2 separate regions of the Homo sapiens genome follow, and region 2 is linked to region 1. Evidence: promoter capture Hi-C in 16 types of primary human blood cells and fetal thymus (Javierre and others, 2016). All regions are on one chromosome and are shown on one strand. Each heading gives the region's core, a stretch centred on a gene start or on the middle of the fragment in contact. The rest is flanking DNA. Distances are from core to core; before and after follow the strand shown. Region 1 holds the start of SLAIN1 (SLAIN motif family member 1). Region 2 has its middle 4.2 kb from the start of RAP2A.

The links. The method cuts DNA at HindIII sites, captures the fragments that hold promoters and counts their contacts. A CHiCAGO score of 5 or more calls a contact.
Region 2: a fragment that was not itself captured here is called in contact with the fragment with the promoter of SLAIN1 in region 1 in 5 of 17 cell types (total CD8 T cells, naive CD4 T cells, total CD4 T cells and 2 more); the score reaches 10.0 in total CD8 T cells.

Annotation. Positions count from the first base shown.
Region 1 is chr13:77,695,608-77,699,071 of GRCh38, reverse strand. SLAIN1 (SLAIN motif family member 1) reads right to left here and starts at 1,385. Exons shown (of 7, transcript NM_001242868.2): 1 at 533-1,385. The coding sequence starts at 1,158. MIR3665 (microRNA 3665) reads left to right here and starts at 956; the gene lies at 956-1,060. RefSeq lists silencers at 318-467, 628-867, 1,068-1,627. The HindIII fragment of the contact is 5,751 bases long and covers 1-3,249 here.
Region 2 is chr13:97,428,270-97,431,662 of GRCh38, reverse strand. No RefSeq gene overlaps it. Among named protein-coding and RNA genes, the nearest start is that of RAP2A, 4.2 kb to the left of the region's middle. The HindIII fragment of the contact is 3,897 bases long and covers 1-3,393 here.

The DNA.
Region 1 (3,464 bases), core at 136-2,635:
CAGCAAGAACGAACCTCTCTATAAAGAGAGATCCATCACTGCGCGGCTTCCGATGCCACCCGAGGAGGAAGAGCACGCAAATCCTGTCCAGCGTTCGTTTAAAACGAAAGAACAGTAACAGTCGCAGACAGAGGCCAACCCCTACCATCCCCCGTCATCCCTCCGAAAACACTGGGGAAAAGAGCAGCACTGAGCAAAAAGACAAGATGACATGGATTTTGCACTTAATGCTAACGAGGAGCTTGGGACCCAACAATCAGCAAATAGCAGAACCCATGGCAGATGGGGGGAAGGGGGGGCCGGTTCATCCGCAGTCGGAGCGATTAGAAAACAGGTTTCTGCCTTCATGAGAAGCCTCATCGTGGGAAGTGTCACCGCCTGGCTCAACACCTGCTGGGTCGGCCCCTCCGGGAGCCGCGGGGAGTCACCCCGGCTGCCGCGAGGGGACCCCCGTCCGCCCCCCGCCCCCGCTCCCCGGTGCCCGAAGCCCCCGAGGCCAGGGTCTCGGGGAAGGAGCGGAGCCAGGCAGTACCAGGTGTAGTCGTCCTCGTCCCGCCAGGCGGCTACGCTCTCCAGATCCAGCAATTCCACCTCGTCCAGCAGCGTGGGGGGCGGCGAGGGCGGCGCTGCAGCTGCCCCTGGCGGCGTCCCCGCGCCCCCCGGCTCCGGCCCGCCACCGCCCGCGCCGAAGAAGCCTGCTGCCGGCTTGAAGTAGACGAAGGGCGCCTCGGGTGGCTGCGCCAGGCTGCAAAGCAGGGAGGGCGCGGGGCTAGGCAGGCAGAAGGTGCCCGGGAACGCGGGGCTGGAGCCACCGCCGCTGCCACTACCGCTGCCGCCACCGCCCCCCGCGCCCAGCGCCAGCCCGAGCCCCAGGCCCCCTGAGGCCGCGGCGGTGGCCGTGGCGGCCGGGGGGCTCCGAGGACCCAAAGGCTGCAGGCCAGCGGGGGGCGGCGCGGCGGGCGGCGGCGGCGGCAGCAGCAGCAGGTGCGGGGCGGCGGCCGCGCTGGCCGCTCGACTCCGCAGCTGCTCGTTCTGCTTCTCCAGCTTGCGCACCAGCTCCTGCAGCTTCTTCACCTCCAGCTCCGCGTTCACCACCGGCCCGGAGCCCGCTCCAGAGCTGACCCCTGCCGAGGCGCATTTCACCTGCTCCGCCATCATCGTGGGCCCCGAGGGCGCCGCGGCCGCCGGGGAGTGCGCGCCGCCGCGCCGGCTCCTCGGGCCACGGGGAGGCTACGGCTCCTTCCCTGTCGCCCCGGCCTGGGGGGCCGACCACGCGCGGGCTGAGGCCGAGCCGGCGGTTCGCATCAGCACCGGGCCCTCGCCTCCGGCCGCGGCAGCCACCACCGAGCTGATCTGCACATGCTCAGTGCGTCCCTCCAGTCCCCTGGGCGTCGCGGCGGCTCCGGGTTTTAGCCGCGGCCCCGGAGCGGGGCGGGGCAAGAGCGCCGAGGGGGCGGGTGGGGGGGGGGGGGCGGAGAACCGTGGGGAAGCCCACCCAGGGGGCGGGGCCGGCAGCCCGGGTTGGGGCCGGGGAGCCGCACCCACCCTCGCTACCTAATCCCAGGGGCCTGATTGGACCTGGCCTGAACTTTCCCGCCACAAGCACCTCCTCCTGCCGCTTGGTGGGACAGTGAACTGCGCGGGTCTCTGAGGCGGTTGCGGGGACCAGGGGGTTCCCAAAGAAGCAGCTGCAGGTGCTGGCCCTCGAGTAGTGCACCACCGGCCCGCTGGTTTGCTCCCTTCCCAGCTCTCTGTTAGGCTCCGTGACAGCACTTAATAGCCACTGGCTAACGAATCCTATAGAAAACTTAAAGGCTGGGGATCGTTATTCTAAAAACCGAAAAGTGGAGATAGGGGGAACAGAAAGGCTTTGGGACCATGCCACTCATGTTCTCATTGGTAATAGAGAAGCAAAATGGTGGGAGACAGGAGACCGAGAAGAAAGAGAAGAAAGCCCTCTCTCTAAGAGGTAGAGTGGCCAGCTGCTAAGGAGACAAGTGTTTACTTATTTATTCTAAAATAGTCAAATTTGAACTGTTACCATCATTGTTTGTCACAATAAAAGAAGAACTGCTTTTTTTTTCATACTATGTATATTCATGCATTCCCCAAACAAAAGATCTTTGAGCACCTACTCTGTGCCAGGAACCATTCTAAGAGCTCGTGATGCGGGCAATGAGTACAATAGGCAAAAATGGTTATGGGGAGAAATATGAGTAAAATTGTTTAGTGCTCCTTCTATTAAATAATGTGTAAGTTATTAAAGTCAGACTTGCTGGTGGGAAAGCAGAAAACAGAAAACCTCAGAATTCTACCCAATACACTTTAATCTCACCTGCAAACCTGCTATTTCTTACCACTTGGAAAACGAGCAAATCTGCTTTTTTTAAAAGAGGCTTTTAAGCAGAAGAATTTAATCGAGTTGTGTTCAATGAATACTGACTGACTTAGCATTTTGAGTGTTTAACACAATCAGAGGAAAACCTGAGATTATATTATGAGAAAAATCTACACCACTGGTTCTCATCCTCAGATGATATACTATCTAGTGAAAGTCCTTGCTAGGGACTTTACATACCAATCTTTGTGACAATGTACCTCATTTCTCTGGAGCTGCTAACACATCGTATCTATTGGTTTCAGATATGGTTTTGTGTCTTCCTGCTCAGAAACACTTGTATCTTCTCAGTTGTTAATCTACATCTCTAGCTTCTGTGTGCAGGGTGGATGTTCTGCATTTAACATGCTTGGTGAGCGCTTCCATAAATTAGCTAAATGCGTGTGATGACTCCCTTAACCTTCCCTGTGTCCCAGCTTGCTAGCCCACCACCTAACCACCTGTATCACCCATCACCTTTCCAAGTTTCGGTATATCTTTAGGATTTTTTTTGGTTATTACCAAAACCTGGAGAAATGGAGTAATACTACTGAAAGTCCTAAGTAAAGAATCTATTGAAGGATTTTTCCCGCATGCTCAGTGGCAGATGCGGGTAGCAGTATCTCCCTGCAACACAAAGAAAGGGAGACGACAGACACAATGAGAACAAAGAGCTGCTGGGTCCCAGACTAGAGAAAGAAATTGGGAATAGGCACATAATAGTGAAGACAACAAGAATTAAGATGTAAAGAAAAGCCGTCATTTTACTGCACAATTTATATACACTCTAAAGAAGGAGAGAAACAGACAGCCCTTTCCTCCTTCATTTACCCAATATGGTCTATATACATCCAACAAGCAGTAGCCAAGCTTTTGAACCCTGTTTTCTAAGTAATAATTATCATAAAAATCTTTGTTCTTTAAAAAGAAAGCATGCATTGAAATTTAGACATAGAAAAGAGATGAAACATTGTTTTACAATTCTAGTCTGCATTATTCTTCTGAAAAGACAAATTTGCCCTTTTCCTACCTATTTTAAAAGTGTGAAATTATTAATGTCTAAAGAAAATTTAAATCATGTTTTTGC
Region 2 (3,393 bases), core at 688-3,187, about 20 Mb before region 1:
CATGACAACTCATCTAGTACCTTGCATTACAAAGGAGCTCTAAGTCCATTTACTTTGCAAGGAATGAAGTTCCAGTGATTAATGTTTTTGAGAAATTTGTATTGGGATTGTGGGGTCCAGAAGGTTGCCTTAAGTAACTGTTTTCATGACTCCTAGGTCCCTAGATGTTGAGAAGCTCTGGATTGAAGCTGTCACAAAAATAGTGAGTGGGCTCCGTAGTCACTCCATTTAGCATAATACAGAGTAGGACAGCTTTGTGACATTTCTCAGGCTATTTCCCCTGACCTCTCATCAATGCTGACGTTTTTGATAAGAAGGGGTATAGAGACTGCAGCCCTTGGGGTGGTTACAGTTCATTTATTTACAGGCCTTATATTGACAGGCCTCAGATTTCATGCTCAGTACCATAAAGGTTGATTTTTAACCACCAAGAGGCAAAAGAAACATGACAGGTCGGAGCATATTTTCTCACCTATTCTGGCTTAAATGATGGTACTTACCTGATTTGTGGTTGTAGGTGAAATGTTGGGTGAAAGATTAGCTGCTATAAAAAGGATGTCAGGACGTGTAGAGAATTTAGAGGACTTGGGTGGGAGATGGATGTCTATTTTCTAACCCCTTAGTCATGTTCATTCCGATGCCAGCATAAACTCTATTTTGAGATGATTATAGAAATAACTTATATCTTCATTTGTTTGTGGGAAATAAAAAATAAAAATGATATAAAAGAAATTTGAATTATTCCCAAGAGCTGTAAATCTGTAAGATAGTGAAAACTTAACGCAGTAACTGACACTGCAGGATCCCTTTAGTTTCCAAAGTGCATTGCCAGGAGAATAAAAAGAAAGAAAATCTTCATTTCTCCTCTCTCCACTAAATCTGAAAGGGAGTTATCTCACCTATAGCCAGATACCTTCAATTATCGCACTTGTGTTACCGTGGAAACCCAAGTCCATCCTTTCTTTCTGTAAAAGGTGTTGGAAAAGGTGGTATGAAGTGGGAAAGGTACTGTATTCTGGGACTTCCTGACACCAGCAAGAAGCAAATATGCAGATAATTTAATAGAAACAAATTAGTAGAGGATGTTTGTAATGCGAGGGGTACTTTTCGACTGTAAAACCCTGATTCCTAATGCTTCTTATTAAAGCCTGCATGCCTCTGATTAAACATAAAGGGGAAGGGCATGTCAAGTACATTTAGCACCTGTGAAACGCTGCTGGCAAGTATAAGGAGAGCAGACGATGGTTTCTTGACCTGTGAGGCTCCTAATACAGTTGAGAATCTGCAGTATATATGTGGAGTGGAAAGGAAGGGGCAAAATAAACTTTGTTCTTCCTTTAAAAAATGTGATATGTCTCAGTGCTTTTGAAAAGAAAAGGAATTAGAATGCAGAAATTAAGAGTATGGAAACAACTCAATAAAAGAAACGTATGGGTGGAGAGAGTAGATGTTTCAAAAGGCCATTTTAATCAGAAAAAAAATCTGAAAGAAAAGACGTAATGATTAAAATGTAGGCAGAAAAAAGAAAAAGCCTGAAGAATCTTAAGAGCTAGAGGATTCTGCGGAAAACAGAGCTTCAGTGTGGTTCATTTAACAAAGCAGAAGAGCAGGCACAGTGTTGCTTGCGTACCCAGCAGTTTCCCTTTATTTTTGCCAAAGAAGCTGGGATGAATCAGGATTGGACTTTAATAGCATTGCTTTCCCTCTGCCCACGGTTAGTCCAAAAGTAGGCACGTGACTCAGTTCTTGTCATTGGAATGGGGAGAAGGCTGCTAGGGCTGGAGGGATTTCTAGGATATTGACAAGAGTGAGGAAATATCCCCGTTTTCTGATGTCGCTCTCTTTGCTTCCTGCTTTACACATTGAAATATGAGAATGTGGCCTCCATTTGGGGGCTATGATGCATTATGACATTATGGTGCAATACTGTAGAAAGCCAGCAACTTCGGATGGCCAGGGAGGAGGATGGGAAGAACCTAGGTCCTGCATGACAACATTGGACAGTCAAACCAACATTAGAACTGCCCACATTTGGACTTATGGCTAAGTAAACAGCTGGTGTCTTTCAATTTAAGTGTGTGTTGGTAAGGTTTTCTGCATCTTACAGCAAAATACATCCCACCTGTTAACAAAAAGTATGAGGGATTCCAGCCAAAATCGGGCTTTAAAAAATCAGCAAGCATTTGTGAGCACTTTCATTTCACTAATATCTGAACGATAGTTCAAAGATACTATAATATTAATTGAGTAATTACTGTGTATATTTTTTAGGCTCTGGGGATAAAACAATAAGCAATTAGCCAAAAGAGCTTGTATTCTAGCAGGAGAGACAGATATTAAGCAACCAATTACATGTTTATATTATAAAATAATGGTTATGCTTAAAACTAATAAGGAAAAATCAGGAATTAGAAAGGGTATATAGTAATTATATAAATAATAAAATATTACAAAATATATAACTAAATAACTGAATGAAATTACAAAAACAAACACTTTCCAAGTAAATGAGAATGAAATGTATAGTTTTTACTGACATTCCCAGAGGTCGAGAGAAACAGTAAATTGGAGTAGGTTAGTCCAGGAGAGTTGTCTGAAGCAAATTAATATTGTATCAGGTTTTGAAGGAAGTGGCGAAAGGACAGGCTAGATGGGGCAGAAGAGAGCACTCTAGATGTAAGGAACCAGAAGAGCAAAGGAAGAAAGCAGGAATGAAGTAAGAGTGAATGAGGGAAATACCAGAATCACTTGATTTTTTAAATTCCCTGTAGCAACAGCATTCTAGGGGCATCTCTCAGAGAAAAAGACAGAAAGATGCCAGAAGTCTCAAAGCAAGATTATTTAAAGGTATAAAAATAATATAGGAGAAAAATACAGAAGACAAAGTAGGAGTACAAGAGTGCATTTGAAATTAAGGCGTCATTCAAAATAATGAATAATTTATAATGTGGGCGTCAAAAGAGTTGTCATAAGAAGTAATTATGGATTTAAGGGCATCAAGAAGGAGGGATTCAAACTTTCACAAATAGAAATAGAAGGAAACATGAGGAGTGGCAAAAAATGAAGACAGGTAGAAAAACAGTTTTTGCTTGTTATTTTTCCATGATAGCTGTTATTGACATGCATTATGTAGAAATGAATGGAATTTGTTTGAAAAGAAAAATTTCAATAGAGCAGTAATACATAAAGGTAGGCTTTTTGGTAAATAGTGTAATTTAAAATGTTTTCACTAGAATGCCTTTTTGTACCTTCCTGTAGGAAAATCTTTTCAACAAAAAAAGCTGTAAGTCATAATAAGTTACAGATTAGCAAAGCATTTTTGAAATAAAAAAAAACCCATAGATGTGCCAAATGTAATAGTAGAGCAACAATAATAAATATTTGTAATAAAAA